5 separate regions of the Homo sapiens genome follow, and all the other regions are linked to region 2. Evidence: promoter capture Hi-C in human tissues and cell types (Jung and others, 2019). All regions are on one chromosome and are shown on one strand. The core of a region is centred on a gene start or on the middle of the fragment in contact, and the rest is flanking DNA. Distances in the headings are between cores, read along the strand shown.

Evidence for each region. Contacts are between HindIII fragments. The study calls those that stand out against the background at their distance.
Region 1: a fragment that was not itself captured here is called in contact with the fragment with the promoter of CCAR2 in region 2 in 6 of the 25 tissues and cell types used here (aorta, lymphoblastoid cells, mesenchymal stem cells and 3 more).
Region 3: a contact is called between a fragment that was not itself captured here and the fragment with the promoter of CCAR2 in region 2, in 2 of the 25 tissues and cell types used here (lymphoblastoid cells and mesenchymal stem cells).
Region 4: a contact is called between a fragment that was not itself captured here and the fragment with the promoter of CCAR2 in region 2, in 1 of the 25 tissues and cell types used here (hippocampus).
Region 5: a fragment that was not itself captured here is called in contact with the fragment with the promoter of CCAR2 in region 2 in 1 of the 25 tissues and cell types used here (lymphoblastoid cells).

Annotation. Positions count from the first base shown.
Region 1 is chr8:22,855,782-22,861,897 of GRCh38, reverse strand. The region is part of intron 3 of PEBP4 (phosphatidylethanolamine binding protein 4); the gene reads left to right. Among named protein-coding and RNA genes, the nearest start is that of PEBP4-AS1, 19 kb to the left of the region's middle. The HindIII fragment of the contact is 5,295 bases long and covers 242-5,536 here.
Region 2 is chr8:22,600,996-22,606,564 of GRCh38, reverse strand. It overlaps CCAR2 (cell cycle and apoptosis regulator 2), which reads right to left and starts at 1,808. Exons shown (of 21, transcript NM_001393997.1): 1 at 1,723-1,808; 2 at 734-829; 3 at 389-480. The coding sequence starts at 791. C8orf58 (chromosome 8 open reading frame 58) reads right to left here. Exons shown (of 7, transcript NM_001013842.3): 2 at 5,208-5,569; 3 at 4,713-4,853; 4 at 4,485-4,593; 5 at 4,253-4,365; 6 at 3,922-4,028; 7 at 2,423-3,370. The coding sequence ends at 3,259. LOC107986876 (a long non-coding RNA gene) reads left to right here and starts at 1,565. Exons shown (of 1, transcript NR_160769.1): 1 at 1,565-3,432. RefSeq lists silencers at 1,391-1,450, 1,511-1,810 and enhancers at 1,474-1,974, 1,981-2,090, 4,402-5,279. The HindIII fragment of the contact is 3,664 bases long and covers 1-2,286 here.
Region 3 is chr8:22,809,660-22,815,159 of GRCh38, reverse strand. All of the region lies in intron 4 of PEBP4 (phosphatidylethanolamine binding protein 4), which reads left to right. LOC105379325 (a long non-coding RNA gene) reads left to right here. Exons shown (of 2, transcript XR_949584.2): 1 at 1-102; 2 at 3,355-3,755. Among named protein-coding and RNA genes, the nearest start is that of PEBP4-AS1, 66 kb to the left of the region's middle. RefSeq lists a silencer at 2,886-3,064. The HindIII fragment of the contact is 6,165 bases long and covers 1-5,119 here.
Region 4 is chr8:22,457,447-22,462,971 of GRCh38, reverse strand. The region is part of intron 1 of PPP3CC (protein phosphatase 3 catalytic subunit gamma); the gene reads right to left. Among named protein-coding and RNA genes, the nearest start is that of PPP3CC, 19 kb to the right of the region's middle. The HindIII fragment of the contact is 5,055 bases long and covers 1-4,620 here.
Region 5 is chr8:22,347,466-22,352,835 of GRCh38, reverse strand. All of the region lies in intron 20 of PIWIL2 (piwi like RNA-mediated gene silencing 2), which reads right to left. Among named protein-coding and RNA genes, the nearest start is that of SLC39A14, 17 kb to the left of the region's middle. The HindIII fragment of the contact is 6,194 bases long and covers 1-5,370 here.

The DNA of each region.
Region 1 (6,116 bases), core at 1,640-4,139, 250 kb before region 2:
AAGATCTTATCGCTAAAGCGCAAGATTGAGACTAGGTTATTATAAGTGGCAACTGAACCCATTTTCTGTTTCTTTTCATTTTCTCCTGTCCACCACCCCTACCCCATACCTCTCTGTCAAGAGAAGTTCTTAGTTCTTGATATTTCTCTTTAATCAAGTTGACATCCTTTGGACCTAAGGAAATTCAGAATCCAGATGGGCTGCAAGACTCAGAACGAGAGCCAAAACAGAAAATAGATCCCTGACATCAGAGAGCCCTGGTCAGGCCCCCTTTTAATGTTTTAAAGAGATTCTCCAGTGAGTTCTGCTCAATGTAATCTCTGTCAAATCTTGCCACAGAAAGTCCAGGAGAATAGCATAGGATTGGGAGTTTGCCCGCCTGCATTTGCATTCTGGCCGTATGACTTAATTTCCTCTGTATTCAGCGGGTAAGGTGTGTAGCCTCTCTGGGCCTCAGTTGTATCATTTGCGAAATGGGGATAGTAGTCGATATTTATTTATCCTAGCTAAAAACCTATCTCTTAGGCTTGTTGTGAGGATTCAATTAGTCTATGGAAAGCACTTGGGAAGTCTGGTACATGGAAAGAGCACAAAACGTCTGAGCTATTATTATTAGCTGTAATAGGGCAAATTGAACCTCCACTTCTCCCTCTGCTGACTTCAGTAGGCTAAAGTGAAATTCTTTTATAAAATTCCCCACTCCACTGGTGAAGGCTTGGAATCAAAACCTGAGGCCCTGGACAAAAACCAAGTAACAGCTCTGGCAATAAGTGGGCACTGACTTCCAGCTTATTGTGTCAACTGGCCAGTCACTTAGAAGTCAAGAAGCTCTACGTTCCAAGGAATGCAAATTTAATTCTATTTTAACAAATATTTATTGAGCATTTTCTATGTTGAATATACTGTGCTGGGCACTGGGGATACTGAGATCAGATGTGGCCCGGGTCCTCAAGAGCTTACAAATGAGATGACTAATACAGAAACCATTAAGTAGACCTCGTGGCAGCACAGTGTGTCATGAACATGGACAGTCAGGGCTGTCACCGAGTCACCTGCAGTGTGCTCAGTAAGCTGGGCTTGGATGGACCGTGCAGGAGAGACTGTGGCTACTCATCCTTGTGTCCCTGTTGCCTAGCATGGAACAGATGCTCAAAAGATCTTTGTACATGACTAACTTGTAACGGAGGGTCTTGAGGAAAGCTCCACGGAGTACGTATCCTGGGTTTTAAGCTTTGAAGATAGAGTCAGATTTTGAGAGGGCAAAAAAGATGGGAATGCATAAACACAACGTGGTATATCCACACAGTAGAAGATTATTCAGCCTTAAAGAGGAAGGAAATTCTGGCCCATGCTACTACATGGATGGAACTTGAGGACATTATGCTAAGTGAAATAAGCCAGTCACAAAAAGACAGGTACTGTACCATTCCACTTAGGCAGGATACCTAGAGGAGTCAAATTCATAGAGAGAAAGCAGAATGGTTGTTGCCAGGAGCTGGGGGGAGAGGGAAGAGGGAGTCGTTTAATGAGTAAAGAGTTTCAGTTTTGCAAAATGAAAAGCATTCTGGAGATCAGTTGCATATCAACGTGAATGTCCTTAAGACTACCGAATTGGACACTGAAAAATGGTTAGGATGGCAAATTGCATGATATGTGTATTCTGGCACCATATATATATATACATATATGTGTATATATATATATACATATATATGTGTATATATATATACATATATATGTGTATATATAATTTTTTTTCTTTTTCTTTTTTTTTTTTTTTTGAGACGGAGTCTCACTCTGTCACCCAGGCTAGAGTGCAGTGACATGATCATAGCTCATTTGCAGCCTTGACTGCTGGGCTCAAGAGGTCCTCTCACCTCAGCCTCCAGAGTAGCTGAGACTTTAGGCGTGCACCATCATACCCAGCTAATTTTTAAATTTTTTGTAGGGATGGGGTCTCCCTATGTTGCCCAGGGACAGACATCTCCTGGGCTCAAGTGATCCTCCTGCCTCAGCCTCCCAAAGACAATATTTTTTAAAAAGATTGGGAAGGGATCTACAAAAACAAAGATGTAAGGCAAGATAGAGAGGCATAAGAGTGTAGGTTGTATGCAAGGAAAGGATGCTGGACTGATAGGGCCCAAAGTTAAAGTACGAGGAGGGACATAATAGGAGATGAGGCAAGATGGAGACCAGATGGGCCTCAAATGCCGTGTCAGGGAGTGTGGAGTTTAAAATGTGGGCTTTGATTTCATACATTGCTGAAGTGGGTCTTCTAATATTCTCAATCTTGGCTACTAGACAGCCGTCACAGGTACTCTGTGGGCCAGTATGCCAAGCTGCTATCTCAGTTCTATCCCAACCCAACCTCTTCTTCTAAATAGGTCCCGAGGCTCATCTCACCTGGGCCAGAGACAGCCCACTGCACCTGGACACTTCTGGCTGCTTCCTCTGCTGGCTTTGTTTTGGACTGATCCCCCTGGAGTATTCAAGCTCCAGCTCACTAAGGGAAACTAATGAGATTCCAGCCTGATGAGTCTGACTTTTTTCCAATTGAATAGTTGTAAGCAACCTCAGTGCTGCAAGCTCAACACTCGGCGAATTACTGGCTCTGCCTCAGAAGCCACTTGGATTTTCCATCTTTGACTTTCTCCTGGGGTGCAGGCTCCACGGGGGGAGTCTGATGGCCATGTGATAGTGCTCCCTGGTAGATAGGTGCTGCCGTAGTTTGCTTTATAGGCTGGGCTTCTCTCAGCCTAAGACAAAGGTTTACTTATTGAAAGTAGAAATGAGCTGGTCTATGACATCTTGGAATTCCGCATGTTGGGTTTTTTGAAGTGTTTGGGTATTATGGGGACACCCGTGCCATGCTGACTTCTAAATGGAGTCCAAACCAGATGACCACAAGGTAGTCCCTTCTGTGTAGTTCTGTTTTGTTATTGTTGTTTTTTGAGACAGGGTCTCATTCTGTCACCCAGGCTGGAGTGCAGTGGTGCAATCTTGGCTCACTGCAACCTCTGCCTCCCAGGTTCAAGCGATTCTCCTGCCTCAGCCTCCCAAATAGCTGGGACTACAGGCACCCGCTACCATGCCCAGCTAATTTTTATATTTTTAGTAAAGACGGGATTTCACCATGTTGGCTAGGCTGGTTTCGAACTCCTGGCCTCAAGTGATCCACCTGCCTCGGCCTCCCAAAGTGCTGGGATTACAGGCATGAACCACCAGGCCCAGCCTCTGTTATTTATCTAACATGAGAGTTTTAGGCTTCAGTTGTCATCTCAAAGTCTCAGTTTTTTCATCTCTAAGATGAGTCTAATTATCCCTTTCTTGCTTTCTAAGAATATTGAGAAAATGAATGGGATAGAGAGAATGCCATACTTTGAAATCTGAGTAACAGGATGAGATACTTAATACTCTGCATTTTCCCAGGATGCTGGGGCCAAGCATTTGACAGTGAGGATATATTCTGTATGCTCCTTATCTCTGCATTTACCAAAATGAAAAGAGAAGAAGGAAATTCTCATTCTGAGATTGATGATAAGGGTTAACCTGTGGTTATTCATTAAGGCCATGTTAACTCCTTTCTTAAGCCACGTTGCTAAAAACAGCTACACTCCTCAGATGCCGTCACTATTTTGCTGCCCAACATCTGAGAAAGGAACTTAAGAAGAAATGCAGGAAGCTGAACGATTCCTTTCACCATTTCAACACCCACACTATCCCTCTTTGACTAGCTGGGTCTGTGGGTGCTGCTGAAGCTATCCCTTCTCACTGGGACATGGAGAGGACCCCGCCTTAGTTATAATAGCAGCAAGAACAAAATGTCTCAGCCCTTGTCACCTAGAAGAATTCTACCCCATGGTCCCCACGCTCTGAAAAGTGGTGGAGGAGATGGTTGGGTTAACAACTAAGAGTTTGCCCCATGGACGGTCCGTGAAGCATCGCCCAACACACCATGCACCAGGGGCATGTAAGTCAGGTGACGGACAATTCCTACTATTGCAGGTAGTTCTCATGGACAGCTCTCCTCTTGCTCCCCATCCCTTGCCCCCTGTTCTTCTCCATGGCTCACTGCTCCCTGACTTGGTATGCTGCCTTAACCATGTCATATACAAAGTCAGATAGATAGAGAGAAAAGCTTATGAGGAATGCTTCAGTATTCGATGCTGGCTTCTGGCTTTTCCATTTAGTAACCCACTTCCACCTCCCTCTTTGGTCCTGGACTCTGCATCCCACCAGAATCAACTCTCTTTGCTCCCCCAACTTCAGGTTCTCCTGTGACTTCAGATGAAAGACTCGTTACATCAGTCCTGGGTTCAAGGACCCTACCAACCAGGCCAGCTTCTGGCCTGCTGTCATCTTAGCTTCCAATTCCAGTTCTGCTGTTTGCTTGCTGTGAATCTCACTCACTGCTTAAAAGCCAGAATATACTGTGCACTGAGTCTTCCACTCCTGGCGGTCCTTCAAGAACTTGGCTCTGGCCACAAGTGTTTTCTGGAATGGGTGATGGGGAGCAAGAGGCTGAGAGAAGGGTATAGCATTGGTAGGTGATGGAGCCCCGTATGGTATAGATGCTTTCTCTGTAAACTGCCTCAGGATATTAAACCAAAATGTGTGAGTGAGTAAGTGTGTGTGTGTGTGTGTGTGTGTGTGTGTAGGTTTCATTTTTTAAAGTAGGAAATGTCCACTATAAAAATTTGGACTACCCAGATTTTTTTTTAAAGAAAGGGAAAAAAATTAAATGTCCCTACTCCCACACTAAAAGATAAGCCAGTATTAATATCTTGGTATAAATTCCTCTACATTTTTATACTTACCAATTGTATCTTACTTCACAGACTGGCTTATAATTTTGTGCTTTTTTTTAACATCATAGTGCATCAGTTCATGTCATCAAACACTCACCTATCATTTTTAATGGCTGAATTGTGTTCTGTGGAGTTCAGACTCTATCTTCCTTCATTTAATCAGTTCCCCTTTGTTGGACATTGAGTTGTTTCTGGGGAAGTTTTTCTTTCACTATTATAAATAATTTGGTGTCAGGAAAACTGAGGCCTAAATCTTTGACTTTATTTTTAATTTCTGGGGGTAAGATCCTAGAAGAGGAACTAATAGATCAAAGGGTATGCACCTTTTCAAGGTTTTTTATTTTTCTATATATTTATTTATTTATTTATTTATTTAGAGACAGTTTCCCTCTATTGCCCAGGCTAGAGTGCAATGGGGCAATCTCGGTTCACAGAAACCTCTTCTTCTGGGCTTAAGCAATTCTCATGCCTCATCCTCCCCAGCAGCTGAGATTATAGGCATGCACCACTACGCCTGGCTACTTTTTGTGTTTTTAGTAGAGACGGGGTTTCGCCATGTTGGCCTGGCCCGTCTCGAGCTCCTGGCCTCAAGTAATCCGCCTGCCTCGGCCTCCCAAAGTGCTGGGATTACAGGTGTGAGCCACCTCTCTCAGCCCTTTTCAAGGTTTTTGATATTCATTGCCAAATTTGCCCCAAGAAAGTTAACCCAATTTCTATTATCATACTGTCAACATTTCATCAACACTGTATTTTAGAATTTGTTAAAATAATTACCAATTTGACAAGTAAAAAATAGTACCCTAATTGATTATAAATTAGGCTGGTTATTTTTTCATGTGCTTTTTGGCAATGTGTATTTATTTTGTGATTTTTCTCTCCATTGTTGCCCATTTTTTCTATTTAGACTTTTTTCTTACTGATTGGTCAGACTTTTTAGTACATTAGGTATATTATCCCCTTCATCATATATGTTACAAATATCTTCTTGGTCTTTTGTTTGCTTTTTATTATATTAGGTTTCCTTTTTTTTTTTTTTTTTTTTGAGACAGGGTCTCACCCTCGCCCAGGCTGGAGTGCAGTGATGCAAATATGGTTCACTGCAGCCTCAGCCTCAGCCTCCTAGGCTCAACCATCCTCCTCCTGCCTCAGCCTCCTAAGTAACTGGCAATACAGGCGTGCACCACCATACCTGGCTATTTTTAAAATTTTTTTGTAAAAATGGGGTCTCACTTTGTTGTCTAGGCTGGTTTCAAATTGCTAGGCCCATGCAATTCTTCCGCTTTGGCCTCCTAAAGTGCTGGGATTACA
Region 2 (5,569 bases), core at 559-3,058:
TGGACAAAATCACACTCTGCCATGAAGGTCTCATCTCAACCCACGCCCCAGCTCAGCGTACTGCATCAAGAGTTCGCACAGAGTGAAGTACAGGTGTGGTGGGCATACTCCATCATTAGGGGTTGGGGCATGTTTGAGCTGGTTCTTGACCCACAAGCTTCTTCTGGGATTTCCAGTTCATTAATTCCAAGACGTAAGCTAAAGATTTCCCTGGAGCGAGAAATGAAGATGCCCCAGTCTGAAGGCTATCTGGGCAACCCCATACTAGCCCACTACCAGGAGAGGGATCAGGAATGATAAACACTATTATGTAAGAGAAAAAGAGCACCAGGCCTCCATGCATTCAGTCCCAAGGGCTGAAACTTACTACAAGGGATGCCGAACCTACCTGAAGGTGCCTGGCATTCTGGGACAGTTCTGTGGCCACAGGAGGAGTGAGCAAACCAGGAGGAGGGCCCAGAAGAGATGTTGAAGCTGTGCCTATGGGGAAAGAGAAGCAATCTCCAGGAACCGCCCCTACCACCTTAAGCACGAGTCAACCAAAGGATGTGGTAAATCCAAAGGCTACAGCTCCAGCCAGCTCCTCCACAGAGCTTCACTGGCAATCACTGTGGGCATCTCCTGCTTTCCAGAGGAACATCAGCAGCAAATTGCTCTCCACCAGGGAAACCCCAAACTAACTCCAGAGCACATACTTCCCAGGATGAGGCCAGGTAGGGAGAACAGTGATCACCTGAGAAGTTGCGTCCCCCTGGAAGCGGGTTGATCCGCTGGCGCTTAAACTGGGACATTGGGAACGCTGTCCTCTTTCAGAGTCGTGGGGAAAAGGCTTCAATCCAAAAAGAAAGAAATTAACAGCTTATAAGGGAAATTTCCATCTATACCCGGAAAAGTGGAGAATCTTAAGTAAGGATATTTCGGAAAACAGGGAGGTGGGTAATAAGAATGAATGAAAGCAATGGATGGAGAGAATATAGAGAAGAAAGAAATGAAACAAGAAATTACATTGTTCCAGTTTGCCCTGACAATAACCTAGTGGTGCATGATACTGTCATGCTGTTTTACAGACAAGGAAACTGATGCTCAGAGAGATCAAGAGACTTGCCCGGGGCCACATAACCAGGTAGTGACAAAACTGCTACTCACACCCAGGCCTCCCAACAACTTAGCGCTCCTCTCACTATGCCACGCCACCCCCAGAGTAGCTGGCGGGGTGAGGGGCTCGAGAGAGCCCCGATGACATTCCTTCGTTCAAAAACATCCGCCAAAACCCTCCACGCAAGGCCCGGAAAAATGGAGGAGGCCGGTGCCGGCGAGGAGACTGTGTGGGCCCTCTCCCCGGAAGCCCGACCCGTTGTTTCCTCGACCGGCTGGTGGGAAGGCAGCTCCCTGGCCGACCAAACGCGAAACCGGCTGCGCGCCACCCTCCTGCTCCCACGCTCCCGGGCCCTCCGCTCCGGCCTCAGCAGCCGCCAGCGCCGGGTCTCCCAGCAGAGCCGCGGCGAGGCCACCAAGGGAGGACTGAGGCGCGCGGTTTCTCCTCCTCCCGCCCGCCCCCAAGGCCGAGGCCGTTGCCAGGGAGACGGGACTTGCAGTCCAAAGAGGGGCTCGGCCCCTTCCGCGCCCCACGCATCTTCGCCGCCCGGCCCTCGCAGCCCCTCGGCCAGCGGAGGGGCGGAGGGGCGAAGGGGCAGAGGGGCGGCAGGGGGCCCCCCAACCCACCTGCGGGCCAGGGCAGCGACACCGGGGGGACAAAGACACCCGGAACCACCACAGCCGCTGCTGCCGCCGCCACCGGAAGCGCCTCTCCGGAAGCGCGACCACTGGTCGGAAGCTGCCGCTCTCCCGGATATGGTCCCTCCCTCGTCTCCGCCGACCTCTCCCTTCCCCCACGCCGGCTTGCCATCCCGCGGCAACTGGGGAGCGGAAGTGCGCCTTCCCGGATCGGATGCGCGTCAGGAAGTCGCGCCTCGGTAGTGTCCTCGCTAAAGAATCCCATCAGGAAAGAAGGCTTCGGATCATTGGTTCCGGGCTCAAAGGAAGCGGGAGCTGGGCCCCCCAAACACAAGGGACCCCCGACTGCCTACCACGCTCGCCTCCCTCTGGCAGTCGAGACTGCAACAGATAAGGAAACCAGCCCCTCCTGACTGGAGGAGAAGGATGCCTATCAGTGACCATTTCTAAGAGACATTCCTGGTCTGACTCAAGCCAGTGACCACCATGCCTAGCCAGTCAGGAATCAGTGCCCTAATTCTCAAATATGAAATCTAAGAGGCCTCAATGAAATGACCTGCTCAAAATCTTGCCAGGAGACTGGCCATTTTAGTCCCCATTAGCAATCCCAGCCCCCCCTTATCCTCCGACCTCCCCATCATCACTCCAGCCTTACTTTCCCCTTTCCTATTCACCTGAGGTTTACAAAGCACTTTGAGGCAGTTTAATCTCACTTTATCCTCATAACAAGTCTGTGAGGTAGATAGGGCAGGCATCATTATTCCCAGCGGGAAGCTGTGGCTCAGAAAGGTTGACTTGGGGTCTAAAAACTAGTACAGGCATCTGGTTTGAATTAAGACCTGTAAACGCTAGTACGGAGCAGAGAAGCTGAGCACTGGCTTTGAAAGTTATTCAGTTCCCAGGTTGTCCCTGATCTTCCTCATTCCTTGTGCAGTCTTCAGGAGTCCGGGGCAAGATTCCATGCAGAGGCAGCCAAAGCCACACCGTTCTCTGTCCCAGGGCTGCCAGCATGGCTCTGAGGAGGAAAGCTCAGTAACTGCCCACTGGGGAATAAAGGTCAGTTCCATCCTTCTGCAGTGACCTCCCCCAGAATATCAACCCTTTGGATGCATTATTTCAGAAGAGATGGTTGGATCCAGCCAGCTTGCAACACTGACAGTCACACAGAGATATGCATACCATTGCGCATAAATACACATCTGCAACATGCTGGGCCCAGACAGGTCACCATGCCAAAAACACTCCACGGACACCTGACAATGAGTGAGTTCACATTGTGGAAGCCCAGGGATTTCTGGTGAGGAGGAAGAGCCCTGGAGCTGCGGCATCTTGGGGGCCTCTCAAGAAACCAAGGTTCCTGACCAGACTGCTTAGAGGAGAAAGATTCAGCCCTCGACTCAAGAGAGGAGGGCAGGCGTCAGCAGCTTTTCCTGGCAATGTGGAGAAGCAGCAAGAGGGCAGAGGGCGAGGAAGACTTCACAGCAAGTCCCCTCCACCCAGGGTCACCAGGTGCACCGAGAGGTCTCAGCCTACAGAAAGGTTTTTTGCTCGTTGCTTCTTAACCACTAATGATGGCATAAAGGTCTTCCGGTGGGGGCGGCACTGAGGCCTTTCAGGGAGGTCCCTGGACTCGATCCTGTGGAATGAAAAGAAGACATTAGGCTAGAAGGGGGAAATAAAACTAACAATGGCCCTAGAGTTGAGAGAACGTGGTTTATCTGCTGGTGGGTAGCTGGGTGTGGGCGCAGCCCGGGGCTGTTAAATGACTTGGTATTTCTTCCTCCTGGAGAACGATTCAATACAAGCCCCGAAGCATGATGGCCTTCACCCACTGTGAAATCCTTTGTGCTCCACCTTGCTCTCCCCACGAACCTGGAAGGTGGCCTAAATGTCAGCATTGAGGGTGAGGGGTTGCTGAGCTAGGGTAGGCAGATTTCCCACATTCTGGTCCTAGCTGTCACTGACTCACCGTGCGGCTTTGGAAAAGCAACTACCCCCAACCCCACCCAGAACCCTGCCTCCTTATCTGTAAATGGGGTGTTTTAACTACTGTTTCTTCTAGCAGCCCCTCCCAGACTGCCTCTCAAGTTTTGCGGGGACAATAATGACAACTGGCATGACAATCTCAGCATCCTGGCTTATCAGTCTCCTCTCCGTGCCCTAACCTGGGCTGGGCACGGGGCTCACCTGGGGTCAGAGCCATCAGGAGGGGCAGGGGGCTCAGGGTGGTGGTGGCTTCTCCGGCAGATCCGGTTGAGCAGGACCTTGACCTTGTCCCAGTGGGAGATATCCCGCTGAGCAGAGGATGAGGGGTCACCCAGAGCCCTCCCCACACTCAGACCCCCGACCAAGCTCCCAGAGACAGCTGTCGCCACAGCCAGGACAAGTCGCCTGCTCCAAACAGGAATCAATCCTGTCATTTCCCCAGAGTTGCTGGCCCCCAGGGTGCCCATGCATCCCCCACCTCCCCTCCCCCCACCCCAGCCCACCACCTGCCCCACATATACCTGTCCCCTACCTTGTGTCCCTGGGAGGATGGCAAGTGGTACGTTGGCTCCACTGGGGTTTCTGGCAGCCTGGGAGGGTTGGCACTGGGCACCTCCACCTTTGGGGGTGAAGCAGCCTTTGCTCCTTCAGAAAGACAGTCAGGTTGGCCAGGGCCAGAAGACACCCCATCAAGCTTCGGCTCAGAGGACCTGCTGGTGGGACCCCAGGCAGGCAGGACAAAGGGAGACACGATGGCCCCTCACCTGTGTGCTCTGTCTGGCTTAGCAGCTCCCATGGCCCCTGCCCCCGATTGCCTGGGGTGTGTAACGGGGACGGTAAAGGGGCTCGGGTCGACTCCTCCTCGCCGGGATCCTATGCACAGGAGAGACAGGTGATCAGGGCCTGGCTAGAGGGCTGAAGCTGCTCTGAGGGCAGCCATGGTTCCCAGGGTCCCATCTGTCCTCTCCCTCCCCCACTCGAATCTCACTCACCCCTGGGGGCCTCTGGATCCGCAGCTGCAGGTAGAGCTGCTGGAGCCTTGCCATCTGCTCCAGCACCAGGCACAGGTGTTCCAGATAGCGAAGACCCTGCCCGGGGAGGCAGGCCCAGGCTCCAGGCCCCAGGCCCCCCACCTGTGGGACATTGTGAGATAGGGGAGATTTCAGCCAGTAGGGCTCCTGCCCTACCCTAAGCAGCCAGGCTGGGCTCAGCCAGCAGATGGGAGCAGAGTGGGCCCCGAGGAGGAACACACGCAGCCGGCTTCCCCACTGCCCAGCGGGGCATAGTGCCAGGAAGGGCCCCCGTAGCTGCCCACCTCCTCTGCAGAGGTGGCCGTGCACAAATGGAACTGGGGTGCAGAAAGAACCTATGACACAACCCATCAATTAGGGGCAGGGAGTGCCCCACCCAGAGAGAGCTCCAGGGAGAACCAGAGGAGCTAGGCTGTCCATCCCACTCTTAAACCCAGCCTGAGAGTGAGCACTCACCGCCTCTTCTTCCAGGCCTGCCTCTAGGTCTGTGTCTGCCTCCATGGACTCCTGTTGCCCTGCTCCAAGGGGCACTTCACGCTCAGGCTTGCTTGCCAGCCGCAGGGAGCGGTGTTGTCCTGACAAGCTGGTGGGAGCTGTTGGGAGCCGGCGGGACCGCTCCAACACCTCCCCCAGCTTCTGGCTGGCCAGGAGTCGGCCTACCTGGGCGGGGGGCTCAGAACTCCCTGAGGATTCAAAGTCCAGGGAGTCCTGAGAAAGGCCCGGTAAGGCGGCCAGGGGGCTGTCCCCAACTGCCATCTCCACTCCTGAGTCCCGGGAGGCCAGTTTGAGAAAGAGTGCCTCCCTGCCGACACCTCTGA
Region 3 (5,500 bases), core at 788-3,287, 210 kb before region 2:
AACACCACTTTGTGAAATAGACATAATCCTCATTTTATAGATGGGGAAAGCAGAGCCCAGAGAAGTTGAATGATGCCATCTCTTAGCTAATGGGTAAGAGAGGTGAGTCTTCAATCCGCGTCCCTTAACCCCAAGTCACATGCCTTTCCTGCCGTACCATGTGGCCTGAGTTCACATCACATCTCTCCCATCAACTCCACTAGGACAAGGAGCCACTATCCCCTCTCTATAACAAGGAAGACATCATCTCTGTGGTTCCCTCCACCACCCCCCGGTTCACTCCCAGAGTTCTTTTTCTAACTATCCTTTATGGGTAGATGCTTCCAGGGAACTGTCCCCAGTGAATACTATCTTGTTAAATAAAACACACTAGGTAAGTGTTTTGGACCCCATAATACTACACCCTAAATACCATCATTACCCAAGCAGCCTTAGTAGGAAAGCCTGCCATAAAGTCTCTGCAGACAGAGAGGGACCATGGCCCTGTGGTTCACAATGACCACAGAAGCAAACTTGGTGGAACTTCAGCTGACCCTGATATTAGGGGGCCAGGTCTAACTGGATGGTTGATCAGGCCATGGCCATAGGAACCCTTCAGTAGGGACAATTTTTTGACAGGCTATCTGGGTTGAAACAGGACAGCAACGAGTTTTTAGGAATACAAGAAATATCTGTGGCACCCCCCACCTCCACTCCAAAGAGGGGCTGGCAGGGTTTAGTACGGAGTAGGATAAAGCTCTGGAACTTTGGATAACTTAAATAAAAGCCAAAAGTTAGATGCCTGGCAGTAGGGACCGGGCATTAATTCATGGTACCCCTTTGTTCGTTTAATTCAAGAAATATATATAGAACACTATTCAGTATAGCACAGTGGTTAAGAGCAAGGACTCCAGAGCCAGACTGCTGTGGTTTGAATTCCTAATCTACCATTATTAGCTGTGTGATCTTGGGCTAGTTGCTCAACCTCTCTGTGTCTCAATATACTCACTCGTAAGCTGGAGATAGTAGTGTGCCTACTTCACACTGTTGTTATGAAGCTTAAGCGAATTATTTTAAGGATAGTGCTCAGAACAATACCCAGAACACATAGTAAACTCTACATCATTACTTGCTCTTATATTATTATTGCTGTAAATCAGGCAGCTAGGTTAGCATTGGTGACACAAACGCAAACAAAATTGAGGAAGGCTCTGCCCTCACAGGGCTTCTATTCTAGAGACCAAGGAAGGAATCTGCAGCACAGTGGTGGTATTACGAGACCCCCAGAGGCTGGCTTGGGGTGGAACTTCCTATACCTGTGGGTTTCCATCAACTCAGGAACAGGACTAGGCTCCAGTCTCCGAACCTGGCCAGGCTAGGACAGGCAGAGACAGATACATAAGGTATGCTGTCCCACTTGGCTCCCTCTTTGAAAAGTTCTCATTGAGCAAGAGCGATTTCTAACTGAGCATTGACAGATAACATCTTTCTCCCCGACTGCAGTGTCCTTAGCATTTCCTTAAAGATGATCTTCAGTTCTGACTCCATCTAACTAATAATCTTCATGCTGAAAGCTCATTAGGATATCAATTAATTTGCATCATTCATTTTCAAAGAAACACTTATTGGTGCATCTTTTATTTGTCTCTGAAGTTAGTGTTCAGAGCTTTTCATGCAGATATTTTCATTAGACTTTTTATTGTTAATGGGGATATTGAACACGGGAAGATGGTATATTAATACTTTCCACAAAGAATATCATGATTGGTGACAAAGAACACTAAGAACAATTAAGGAGACAAGAGTATCTTTTTTCTTCCAAAAAAGAAAATCTTCCTAGAAACCGTCAATGATTCTAAAATTTGCCCTGAATATCTTTTTTGTTTTAAGAAAGAAAAGGAAATTGGCAAGTTCATGGTTCCCTTTCATTCAGTGCCCTCAACCTTTGGCAACTGTAAATGCAACCAATTCTGGGTTGAATTAAAAGAGTCTCTAAAGGGTCATTATTTTGTCTACTTTTCTGTAGGGTTAAATTTTTCCATAATTAGAGGTTTTTTCCTAAGGGCTTCTAAGTGCTTTAGGTGAATAAGATAATGGGAAATCCAATAAACAGGGCAAGAATTATAGCTCCCTGCTTTCTAGTTATGTGGGTAGCACATGCCAGGACACTTGTGCTTGAGTGATCGGTTCCACTGCTGAGCGAGTTGTTTGACCTCTCTAAGACTGCAACTTCGCCTCTGTGAAACTGACAGAAATCCTCACTCTTCAGGGTGGAGACAAGGAAAAAGGAAATTACATATGCAAAGAGGAGAAGCGTCCCTAGAGAGAGGCACTATAGGAAGCGGCACGTGTATCCTTGTGCCTAATCAATGGAGCAGCAGAGCCTGTAGAAATTTAAATATATCGATATAAAAATAATGATATAATCTCATTTTCTATATATCCAGAACCACACTAATGATAATAAACAGAATAAACAATCTTTATCAGGCCTGCAAGTTCAGATGAAGAGGTCAAACCAAGGAGATGGGATTAATAATGACTTCTGTCTTTAGAGCTGTATTTGCAGTTTTGCCACTGATATTTGTGCAGTTTCCCATGCATGCTTTGACCTGTACTGTGAGGATCCATTTTAACTAATAAGCAGCTAAAAGGCGTGACTTAGGCTTCCTAACATGTAGGTTCAGCTCTATGGGCCATAAAGAGTGCTTGCTGATGGAGACAGCACAGAGGTGGCCATAAACCAGGTGATTATTAACCAGACTTGTATGTGGCCACCCTGAAGGGAAAGGGAAAGAGCTCGGACTTTGGGTCAGATGAACTAGAGGAGGTTCCAGGCTCTGCCGCTTCCAGGTGGGAAGGACCTCTAAGTACATTAGGTGAATAAGATAATGGGAAATCCAATAAACAGGGCAAGAATTATGGCTCCCTGCTTTCTAGTTATGTGGGTAGCACATGCCAGGACACCTGTGCTTGAGTGATCGGTTCCACTGCTGAGCGAGTTGTTTGACCTCTCTGAGACTGCAACTTTGCCTCTGTGAAACTGACAGAAATCCTCACTCTTCAGAGTGGAGACAAGGAAAAAGGAAATTACATATGCAAAGAGGAGAAGCCTCTGAGGCTCAGTTTCTTCATCATTAAAATGGGCATGATAATATCTATTTCCCAGCGTTCAATGAGATTAAGTCTTCTGACACAGAATAGTAGGACTTTGGTAAATGTAATTATCTCCCCTACAGCCCCCAACTTTGACATCTGACCATAGCAGCTACTTATGATTTAGCAAACTCCCTTAGACAATTGGACTCAAGTCTTGCAAAGTGAAAATTCTAGACAGTGCCCAACACAGCTCATCCTTTTGCCCTTTGAAACTAGATGAGTCCAGGCCCAGCCTGGAGGACCTAACGTGACCCCAGCTGGCTTTTGAGGAAACCAAAGCGTGTTGGAGCCTGGAAGCCTTTGGTCAGTCCCATCATTCCACCTCTAGGGATCCCCTGTGACCTCCTGAACCAGAGCAGACTCCCTGGAGCCGTCCCAGGCCACAGCCCAGGTGTGATGCTGGGCTGCAAGTGACAGCCAGGCCTATGGTGCACTGCCCACATTTGGGGCTGCAGCCCCTTCCTCTCCAACATTTCCCACCTCTATTTTTAACAGAAGCCAGTGCCCCTGCCATCTCCTTATCACTCACAGTCCCACTCTGCTGTCATTGTCCCGCCCTAGAGATGCTTTTGCTCCCATTCAAAATAATTTAAATAAAATGTTGCTACAAAGCGGAATATTATCTTTTGATGAATGTTTTTAAAGCCCTTTAGGTTTTCATGGTAATTTGCGATGTGAAATTATTTGGAGATAAGAGCCAAATTAGCTCTCGTATGCTGAGGTCGCTGTGTCCTGTTATCCATGTGAGCAGTGTTTAAATATAATCAGCCCTTAGACTAATGCAGCATAATTGTTCATTTGAAATAGCTTTTTTTCACTTCATTCAATGAGTCATTAAAATATTCAAGGGATAATGCAGTGAATTGGAAATGAGTTTATCATATTATCCCATACATACTGTAGTGCTTCAGGTAACTAAGGAGAAAGAGAGAGAGAGAGAAAGAAAGAGAGAGTGCGGATATGAATAAGGTATACATGCAGGAAGGGAGCCAGTATATACAGGAATATTGTAAACAAAGCTTTTTCGTTGGTTTATGGCAAGCGTGTATAGAGAGGCTGACTAGGTGGGGTGAAAGAGAAAGAAAATGCTGTTCTTCTAGGAGGTTTCTCTCTCTCTCTCTCTCTCTCTCTCTCTCTCTCTCTCAGCACTCTGAGATTCTGTGCTCCACCACAGCTCCACTGTTAACTTATTTTTATCAAATATGTTTATATCAGAAAGTCGTTATGGAAACCAATTCTGCCATCCAGGAGAATTCCTGGATCAGGCAGAAAACTCACTCTTTCTTTCTCTTTCTCTCTCTCTCTCTCACACACACACACACACACACACACACACACACACACACACACACCCCTCCATGAGACACCCCAAAGGGAACAGCACAGTCTCGCTCACCCAACTCTGAACTCAGCTCTGAGGGGGCAGCTGGTGGCTCCTGGCACTCCTTCATGGGCAAAGCCAGAAAATGTATAAGACCAACAGCCCAAATCCATCCTTGCCCTGACATGAGGAACCCGGGCTTTTCACTGTCCTTTGAGCCTCAGACACCCACCCCTGAGCAGATGCTCTTAGGAAGCGAGGGGGTTGGCGGTGGGGGAGGGGAGAGGGAGAAGGGTGGGCAGCATCTTTGAAGCATGGTGATCCTTCCTCGGTCTTAGAAAGTTCTATCTGTTTGCATTGTTTATGCCACACTGGAATAATGTCTTCTGTTCTGGCCGCAGTAATTTAAGAGGGATAATGACCAGCATAGGAAAGCAACCTGAATGGTCAGGTTCTGTAGAAACCACATCAGGTCAGCAGCAGCGGAAGGAAGTAGGAAAGGCTAGCCTATTGGAACAACTACGGACACACGAGAAGGAATGGCCTTTAAAGAGTTAAGGAAATCTCGTTGGAAAACAGAAGAGATCTTGCTGGACTCCACCAGGCGGAATCAGGACCAGTGGGGGAAGTTTTCCAGGGAAGCACATTTTGGTCCCTTATGAGGAAGAACTTTCTAAGAATTTGAACTGCACAAGAACTGAGCATATATCCCACCAAGGAGCTGGCTTTTATTAATGACAGTAATTATCCATGGGTGACCCAGGAAATTTTCCCACTGGGTAGAAGGCTGGTGCAGGTGACCTGTAAGGTGTGCCCCTTGGCATCTCCCACAGTGTCTCCACCTGGCATATTGTCTCTCCTGGCCACAGATACTCTTCCTGTAGCTCATATCCATAGAACATATTAACAACAACAATAACTAAAGAAGAGAGAATAAAAAGGAGGAAGAAAAGGAGAGAGGGAGAGGAAGAAGGAAAATAAGAAAAACATCATTGATGCACTTGGCAAGTGATGCCAAGTGCTGTGTTTTACATAAGCACC
Region 4 (5,525 bases), core at 844-3,343, 140 kb after region 2:
AAAGGAAAATCCAAATAGATTATGGGATATATGGGACATTATTTTAAACTTTAATAATAACTGTCTGAGTTTCAGTGTGTTGCAGATGCCAAGTGTGTGATCTTTAGAGTCTTAAATGCTGCTGTGCAGCCACTGTCACACCAGCTGATTCAACAAATTATCATCTAAGAAAAAGAACATCGAGGCCATCCTGGCTAACATGGTGAAACCCCGTCCCTACTAAAAATACAAAAATTAGCCTGGCATGGTGGCGGGTGCCTGTAGTCCCAGCTACTCAGGAGGCTGAGGCAGGAGAATGGTGTGAACTCAGGAGGCGGAGCTTGCAGTGAGCCGAGATCGTGCCACCGCACTCCAGCCTGGGCAACAGAGCAAGACTCCGTCTCAAAAAAAAAAAAAGAAAAAAGAAAAAAAAGAACAAAATGGCCTGGTGCCTGTAGAGGCCAAAATGTCTACCATCAAAGCTTTATAAACATTCACAACCCATCAAACGACAGTTTGAAATCTTGATTGATCACCTCCCCTAAATGGTAAATGTTCCAGTTTAGCGGACGAATGATCAGAAACAGAGATTAAAAAGTGAAACAAAACTGAAATTACACTACAAATTGCTTGCAGATGCACAGAAAAGCACTTAGTACTTGCAAAACAGATAAACTGAACCAAACCAAACCGCAATGTACTGTGCATCACAGGCCATCTAAGCTCAAACCTTATTTTTTTTCTTTTTAAGAGAGAGGGTCTCCCTCTGTCACCCAGGCTGGGGTGCAGTGGCATGATCATAGCTCACTGCAGTCTCCAACTCTTGAGTTCAAGTGATCCTCCCCCTCAGCCTCCCAAGTACCTAAGACTACAGGTGTGTGCCACCACACTCAGTTAATTTTAATTTTAAAAAAATTTTTTTAAAGACTGAGGTCTCACTAAGTTAAACAGGCTAGTCTCAAACTCCTGGCCTCATGCGATCCTCCCATCCTAGACTCCCAATGCACTGGGATTAAAGGTGTGAGCCACTGTGCCCAGCCTCAAACCTTTATTAATATCAGCTCACTCATACCCGTATGTTCTAGTACCACAAACTGATCTAACAGTAAATCCTCAGGGACTTATGTGTCCTAGAGGCAAAACTACTGGCTGTTCCAGCAACTCACTCAAATTACATATTCTAGCCAATCCCTGCCCAGACTACTACCTTTATCCTAACATTACTCTGTGACTAACAGCTCCTAAAATCCTGTATGTCCTCTTTCCTAACTCTATCCTTTTGAGAGGTCCCACAGCTCTTCTGATGTATGTTATTCCTTCCTGCAGCAAGCTAAATCAGTGTAACTTATTTTTGACTACAGATGTTTTCTTGGTGGTCTTTGGTGGTGAGATTTAACAGTCCCATGGCAGGAAACTGGTGGCTGACAGTTAGGAATAGGAAGACTTTTTACCACATACCTTTTAAAATGTTATGCCATGTTATTCTACTATTTACTTAAAAAATACATAGAATTAGACTTTAGAGATGTATATAATACTATCATAAATTAATCGACCAACAGTAATATTACCAACATCCAATACTGCTGGAACTTACCCAGGAATCAGAGTGTTTTGGATATCAGCAGACAGGAAAATTCACCACCTGCTTCTACAATTCTAGAAAACCAGCCAGCAGTTAGGGGTGGTAATTAGCTTCATATCTAATGTAAACAAACTTTTATTATACTGTGTATTTATACTAAAAATCAAGTTTAAAAACCCCTTATCATTAAAAACAAACTTCATATGTGGAACTATGTTTGCTAAATATGGCTCACAAAGTGCTGTAAATAAAGTAAAGATTTTCAGCTGGGTGCGGTGGCTCACGCCTGTAATCCTAGCACTTTGGGAGGCCAAGGTGGGCGGATAACAAGGTCAGGAGTTCGTGACCAGCCTGGCCAATATGGTGAAATCCTGTTTCTATTAAAAACACAAAAATTAGCCGGGCATGGTGGTAGACACCTGTAGTTCCAGCTACTCGGGAGGCTAAGGCAGGAGAATCACTTGAACCTGGGAGGTGGAGGTTGCAGTGAGCCGAGATCACACCACTGCACTCCAGCCTGGGCAACTGAGCAAGACTCTATCTCAAAAAATAAATAAATAAAGTAAAGATTTTCTTTTTTCATTTTTAGACACAGGGTCTCTCACTCTGTCACTCAGGCTGGATGGTGTGCAGCTGCTTGATCATGCCTCACGGTAGCCTCGAACTCCTCAAGCAATCCTCTCACCTCAGCTTCCAGAGTAGCTGGGACTTCAGATATGCACCATGACACCTGACTAATTTTTAAATTTTCTGTAGAGACAGGTGTCATCATGTTGCCCAGGCTGGTCTCAAACTCCTGGCTTCAAGCAGTTCTCCCACCTCAGCCTCCCAAAGTGCCAGGTTTACAGATGTGAGCCATTGCACCTGGACTAAAATAAAGGTTTTCATGCTATTTTTTAAAGTTTCGAAAGTTTTGGCCTGGGAATGGTGGCTCATGCTTGTAATCTCAATGCTACAGGGGGCCAAGATGGGAAAATCACTTGAGGACAGGAGTTTGAGACCAGCCTGGGCAACATAGCGAGACTCCACCTCAAAACACACACTCACACACAAAAAATTCTTTGAAATTTTCAAGCACAGAATTTACAAAAATAGAATAGGAAAGTATTATCCATGTAGTATCAAGTATTGATTGTAAACATTCTGCTAATCTTTCAAACTATCCTATCTTTATTTAAAGATTTTTATAAATCAAAGATACTATACACTTGAGGCAAAACAATTTTTTAAAAGAGCACAAAACAAAAAACAATAACCACCACAAAAACAAAACTCTTAGAATCTCACCAGCCAAAGACAACTACTGTTAAGATGTCAGTATATATCTTAATATTTTAAATATGTAAATACATTATTTTATAATCAGTTATACTATATAGACAATCTTCTAATGTTTTCTTAATTTAGTAGTAAACTCCACTAATGCAGTATAGATATTTTCTCCCATTCTGTGGCTTGCCTCTTCATTTTCTTAAACATCTTTAGAAGAACAATTTTTCAAAAGTCCAATTGTCAGCGTTTATGGTTCATGCCTTCTATGACCTATCTAAGAAAATAGTCTACCCCAAAGTCACAAAGATTTTTCCTATACTTTCTTTTAGAAATTTATAAAAACTTCACCTCCCCAAGACCATACCTCCTAATACCATTACATTGGGGATTAGGATTTCAACATACAAATTCTGGGGGGTCACAAACATTCAGACAATAGCATTAAATAATCTCTTGTACTTCTTCTTAATACATATATCAAAGTAATATGACATGAACTAGAATGAAAATAATCTCTGAGAGGTCACTAAAGTTTAAGTCCAACCAACAATGTAGGCATAACATGTGACAAATAATACTCACATGCAAGATACTCTCTCATGAAAATGAAAGTATTTTACACAATTCTAGATAAACCACCTATAAGTTTATCTCTTTAAACACACACACACACACACACATAACAAAGTGATAATAATGAAGTGGTTATTAGTGGGAACCATGAATCTACTCTAATCTTACATACAAGATCATTCAAAAACTTCAGGACTTCAAATATTGTTAGTTACAAATTATAACACATATTTCACACATGGATTGCACTAAAGAAAAGTAAGAAATTTGCAGCTCTGTATTAAAAAGAGAATAGAGATTTAAAAAATAACAAATCACTAAAATGGTCTGGGCACAGTGGCATGTGCCTGTAATTCCAGCTACTTGGGAGGTGTAGGTGGAGGCGGAACGATCACTTGGGCCCAGGAGTTCCAGGCTGCAGTGAGCTATGACTGCACCACTATACTCCAGCCTGGGCAGCAGTGCTAGACTCTGTCTCAGAAAAAAAAAAAAAATTACAAATGTATATTTCTGGTGTCAACTTCAATATGTGAAACACATAATGCCACGTGCTACTAACACTTCTTCATAACAATGAAACATTTTATTCATATCATTCTACTTATAGTTGCTGACTTCCTTAATTTGATTTAAAAGCAGCAAACTTTGAAGAAATTCATTGACCACAATTAACACTCTTTTCTCAATAATAAGAGGTAGGAAAGACTGTGTATAAAATCATCAACTCCTCTGGTTTCTCCAACACCAGTTGGGGAGATTTACAATTCAAATCGAATTATCCAGTATCCTCCTTTGAAACACTGAAAGAGTGTACATTACCAACTGAAAAACAAAACATTCCATAACTAAATATATCTAAGTTTCTATAGGTAGCCTTCCTAAAATCCTAGCTAGTAGTGATATATATATATTTTTATTTTACTTTATTTTATTTATTTATTTTTATTTTTATTTTTATTTTTTTTGAGACGGTGTCTCGCTCTGTTGCCCAGGCTGGAATGCAGTGGCATGATCTCAGCTCACTGCAACCTCTGCCTCTCAGGTTCAAGCAATTCTCCTGTCTCAGCCTCCCAAGTAGCTAGGATTACAGTTGAGAACCACCACGGCCAGCTAATTTTTGTATTCTTAGTAGAGACAAGGTTTCACCATGTTGGTCAGGCTGATCTCAAATTCCTGACCTCAAGCAATCCGCCTGCCTCGGCCTCCCAAAGTGCTAGGATTACAGGCGTGAGCCACCGAGCCCAGCTGATATTTGTTAATAGTGAAGTTCTAAAATTTGTATCAAAGAGCTAGAAGGATTCTTTGAGTAACGTTTGAAAGTGCTAGGGAAAAAATACTAGAGCAGTAATTATATTCTAGTTAAATAACTAAATGTTTATCTGGTACCTACTACATGCTCACATTGTATGGGTAATGTGTGAAATATACAAGTTGTTTTTGTGTGTTTTTTTTGTTTTTTTTGTTTTTTGGTGCGACGGAGATTTACTCTTGTTGCCCAGGCTGGAGTGCAATGGCACGATCTCGGCTCACTGCATCCTCTGCCTCCCAGGTTCAAGCGGTTCTCCTGCCTCAGCCTCCTGAGTAGCTGGGATTACAGGCATGTGCCACCACGCCTGGCTAATTTTGTATTTTTAGTAGAGACGGGGTTTCACCGTGTTGCCCAGGCTGATCTCGAACTCCTGACCTCAGGTGATCCGCCCGCCTTGGCCTCCCAAAGTGCTGGGATTACAGGCGTAAGCCACTGCGCCCGGCCGAAATATACAAGTTTAACACATTTATTCTACCTTGAAGAATCATATGCTCTAGTTGAGTAGAATTCGCATAAAACAAGATATAAACACAGAATAGTTAAGCAGTACATTGTATGGTTCAGACTGTAAGTACGGAAGATTATAAAGGGGGAAATCAACGATAGCTACAGAAATCAATTAAGTGTATGAGAAAGTTGAGACTTGGGCTGGGTGCAGTGGCTCATGCCTGTAATTCCAGAACTTTGGGAGGATGAAGCAGATGGATCGCTTGAGGCCTGGAGTTCAAGAGCAGCCTGGCCAACATCGTGAAACCCTCCCTATCTCTACTAAAAACCACAAAAATTAGTCGGGCATGGTGGTGTGCA
Region 5 (5,370 bases), core at 1,747-4,246, 250 kb after region 2:
AGCTACTGTGCCTAGAGGGCAGGGAAAAAAAGCTTCTAATCATTTCTAGACTTCCTTGGGGTAGTAAAACACGCCTGGTGCAGCAAAGGTGTTATAAAACATGAAAGCAAAACATGCAAGTTATGAGTCACATGCATACGGCTTATCCACAAACAATGCAAACAAAGTTCAAAGGAATGCTGGGAAAACTGCAGGCTGAATCAATTTTCCTTCTACTTGGATTTAACACTAATAACTGTCGGGGCAAAGAATAAGGTAAAGTGTTAGAGAAATTCTAACATATGACCACATATGCCACAGATCCGCTGCCATCAGATTTTTACCTACTGGAAATATCCCAAGTTGCTGACAAGTGAAACGTCCCTTTACTAAATATTACCCTACAGTCTGGTATGGTGTAAAACATACAGTAAACATACAGTAAAACATTTTTACTGTAACTAAGTAATTAGCAAACAGCTAGCTATGTGAATTGTCTATGGGTCCAAATTAAATTAAATGCTTGCTTGAAGCAATTTGAAGAATAATTTTTCCCCCATTTAGGGAATATAATTGTGTTCTAGTTGTGTTCAACTTCAATAATTCAAGAAGGGCCAGGCACGGTGGCTCACGCCTGTCATCCCAGCATGTTGGGAGGCCAAGGCGGGTGGATCACCTGAGGTCAGGAGTTCAAGACCAGCCTGGCCAACATGCTGAAACCCTGTTTCTACTAAAGATACAAAAATTACACAGGCATGGTGGCACATGCCTCTAATCCCAGCTACCTGGGAGGCTGAGGCAGGAAAATCACTTGAACTCATGGGGTGGAGGTTGCAGCAAGCTGAGATTGTGCCACTACACTCCAGCCTGGGCAACAAAATTCAAGAGGGTAAGTTCACTTCAACTTAAAATGGAAGTTCCCTTTAAAAGTGCTTTAGTTTAATTCAGTTTTGATTCTAGTGGAGTGTGGTTCATTCTAAGTTTGTGTTCATACTTACCCTCAAAAACCTAAATTATGGGCTGGACACGGTGGGTCACGCCTGTAATCCCAGCACTCTCAGAGGCCGAGGTGGGTGGATCACCTGAGGTCAGAAGTTCAAGACCACCCTGGCCAACATGGTGAAACCCTCGTCTCTACTAAAAATACAAAAATTAGCCAGGTGTGGTGGTGCACACCTGTAGTCCCAGCTATTCAGGAGGCTGAGGCAGGAGAATTGCTTGAACCTGGGAGGTGGAGGTTGCAGTGAGCCAAGATTGCACCACTGCACTCCAGCCTGGGTGACAGAGTGAGACTCCGTCTCAAAACAAAAAACAAAAAAACAAAAAAAAAACACCAAAAAAACCTAAATTATGAATTAGGTTTAGATATAAATTATATATATATATATATATATATATATATATATATATATATATGTATGTATGCACTGTTCCTTACAGGTTACTCTACATGAAAATGTGATTTCCAAGAATACTTTAAAAAAATAAGCACTTAGAATCCCTTTAAAAAGTTGAGTTTCAATTTGTTTTTTTTTTTAAGAATTGAGGTCTCACTCTGTTGCTCAGGTTAGACTGCAGTGGTGTAATCATAGCCACTGCAGCTTCAAACTCCCAAGCTCAAGAGATCCTCCTGCCTCAGCCTGTCAAGTAGCTGGAACTACAGGTGCTTGTCACTACGCCAGTTAATTAATTAATTATTTTTTTTTGAAACAGAGTCTCGCTCTGTTGCCCAGGCTGAAGTGCAGTGATGCAATCTTGACTTACTGAAATCTCTGCCACCCAGGCTCATGCAATTCTTGGTCCTCAGCCTCTCAAGTAGCTGGGACTAGCTGGGACTACAGGTGTGCACCACCATGCCTGGCTAATTTTTGTATTCTTAGTAGAGATGGGGTTTTGCCACGTAGGGCAGGCTGGTCTCAAACTCCTGACCTCAGGTCATCCGCCTACCTTGGCCTCCCAAAGTACTGGGACTACAAGCGTTAGCCACTGCGCCCAGCCTAATTTTATTTAAAAACATTTTTTAGAGACAGGGTCTCACTATGTTGCCCAGGCTGGTCAAACTCTCAGCCTCAAGTAATCCTCCTCCCTCAGCCTCCCAAAGTGCTGAGGTTACAGGAATGAGCCACCACTTCTGGCCCAGAATTTCAAATATTAATGACCCCTTTTCCTAAGAAGCCTCAAGCACTACATTTACAAGTATGTAATTCATCTTCACAGTCTCAGATTGCACCAGTTTGTGGTACTTTTTATTTATTTTTTTGAGATGGGGTCTCATGCTCTTGCCGAGGCTGCAGTACAGTGGCACCATCTCTGCTCACTGCAACCTCCACCTCCCAGGCTCAAGCCATCCCTCCTGACTCAGCCTCCTGAGTAGCTGGGACTACAAGTTTGTGTCACCATGCCTAGCTAACTTTTGTATTTTTTGTAGAGATGGAGGTTTCACCATGTTGCCTGGGCTAGTCTCGAACTCCTGGACTCAGTGATCTGCCTGCCTTGGCCTCCCAAAGTGCTGAGATCACAGGTGTGAGATACCATACCTGGCCTGTAGTACCCTTAAAAAAATTTTTTTTGGCTTTCCAGCATCTACTCCATCTTTTCTCAGTAATAGCACTTGAGTTTCCTCCTGCCCCCAACAAGATATAGTCTGGTGGGACTATTAGTCAACGTGCCCTAGCCCAACCCAAGGTTTCCCAACCTGTCAGCTCTACTGACATTTGTGGGTAGATAATTCTTCATCCTAGAGGGCTGTCCTGTGCACTGCAGAATCTACATTTAGCATCATCCGTGGCCTCTATTCAGTAAATGCCAGGAGCAACCTCTCACCCTTATGACTAAAAACGCCTTTATATATCACCCACTGGGAGGACAAAATTGCTCCCAGTTGAGAACCACTTCACTAACCAAAGGATGTGTAGACGACTCGAGCCACACCAACAGACTGCTCCTCCCTTGCTTCCATCTTGAGTAGAGAATGCAAAACAGTGGAGTTTGGCCCTTCAATGGCAGTGCCTTTTCAGGCCCCTGCTTCTGAAACCCCAGGAGTTAGCCTGAATCATGCCCATTTACCAGCCTGGGGCTCCACCTTCTCACCAATCCTCTGAGCCTCTGTACGATCCTGCCAATTTCTATTCTGCTCAAGTTACCAGTTCCTGTTAATTCCCAAAGACTCCTAACTAACTCGCTGTGTTAAAAGGCAGGTGACCCAGGACCTCAGATCTGGAAGAAACCCTCATTTGACAGACAAGGAAACAGACAGTACAGTGGATTTGGGGTCAGGAGACCTGGGACTGAGTCTGACTCTGCTACTCCTTTAGCTGTGACCTTCAAGACTCAATTTCTTCAGTTGAAAAGTGAAGAAAAATGATCATCTCACCTTCTTCTCAGGGTTGTTAAAAGGGATAAAGTAAAATTTATATATATATATATATATATATATACACACACACATATATTGTACACAAAAGTTGAGACCGAGCTAGATCAAGGATATACAGATATTCCGAAGCACAAAGAAGGGACTTAATAAATCAATGGAGTGAAAAATAGAAGGCCGGGTGCAGTGTGGCTCACGCCCGTAATCCCAGCACTTTGGGAGGCTGAGGCAGGCGGATGACTTGAGGTCAGGAGGTTGAGACCAGCCTGGGCAACATGGTGAAACCCCGTCTCTACTAAAAATACAAAAAATAAGCCAGGCCTGGTGGCGTGCATTGAACCCGGGGGGCAGAGGTTGCAGTGAGCAGAGTTTGTGCCTCTGCACTCCAGCCTGGGTGACAGAGTGAGATCCCATCTCAAAAAAAAAAAAAAAGAAAAAAGAAAAATAGAAATCAAATTTGACTTTGGTAACTACTGGCATCACCTCCTTCTTTAACATTTGCCAACTAACCACTGAGTTCAAGGCACCACACTCAGCCCTAGGTAGGCCTCCAACAGAACCGAAAGGAATCAAGGAGCTGAAAAATCTAAAAATAATCAACAATGTTAAGCTGTCTAGGTCATCTAGTCTATTTTCTTCATTTTGTAAGTTATAAAACTATGATTGAGGGATGAGTCAGAATATAGGACAAATCACAAGGCTGAAACATAACTCTTAAATGTGTTTTTCTTTCTTTTGAGACAGGGTCTTGCTCTGTCACTCAACCTTCTGGGCTCAAGCGATCCTCCTGCCTCAGCCTCCTGAGCAGCTGGGACTATAAGCATAGCTGGGACTACAGGGATGTGCCATCAAGCCCGGCTAATTTTTTTATTTATAGTAGAGACGAAGTCTCAATATGTTGCCCAGGTTGGAACTCCTAAATGTATGTTATAAAAACCACTTCAGTACTCAGTAGATACTTGAAACAGTAAGTAATGAATGTTCTCGAAAGCAACACTGTGTTTATTAATTTTAGTATCCCTTAGCACTGCGCAGAGGGGCAAGGGTCAGTTAGGCAAAAAATATCTGCTGAGTGTTTGACATGTTTTTATGTGTGGCTCCATTCATTCACGGAACAAATACTTCACATCCACTAGATATGAGCCACTGCACTTATCTCAGAAAATTAAAACATTATTATTTTTGAGATGGAGTCTCGCTCAGTCACCCAGGCTAGAGTGCAATGGTGTGATCTCGGCTCACTGCAACCTCCGCCTCCCGGGTTCAAGCGATTCTCCTGCCTCGGCCCCCGAGTAGCTGGGATTACAGACACCCGCCATCATGCCCGGCTAATTTTTGTATTTTTAGTAGAGATGGGGTTTCGCCATGTTGCCCAGGCTTGTCTCGAACTCCTGACCTCAAGTGATGTGCCTCACTGTCTCAGCCTCCAAAAGTGCTGGGATTACAGGCGTGGGCCACTGTGCTCAGCTAAAACATTATTTTAATACTATCCAGATCCTCATGGAACTCAAATTAAAAAGGGGAGGCAGACGCATAAATGCCCTCAATATATTATAAATAACATAATAAAGATATAAATGCTATGGCAACAGAGGAGTGTAAGAGATTTGCTCCCTGGAGGGAGAAATGTATCAGGAAAAGGCATGAAGAATGAGTCTGCCAGGAGTGGTGGCTCACACCTGTAATCCCAGCACTTTGGGAGGCCGAGGTGGGCGGATCACCTGAGGTCAGGAGTTTGAGACCAGCCTGGCCAACACAGTGAAACCCCGTCTCTACTAAAAATACAAAAATTAGCCAGGCATGCTGGCAGGCGCCTGTAATCCCGGATACTCAGGAGGCTGAGGTAGGAGAACAGCTTGAACCCGAGAGGCGGAGGCTGCAGTGAGGCAAGGTCATGCCACTGCACTCCAGCCTAGGCAACAGAGCAGGACTCCGTCTCAAATAAAAAAAAAAAAAAAAAAAAAAAAGGCCAGGCACAGTGGCTCACGCCTGTAATCCCAGCACTTTGGGAGGCTGAG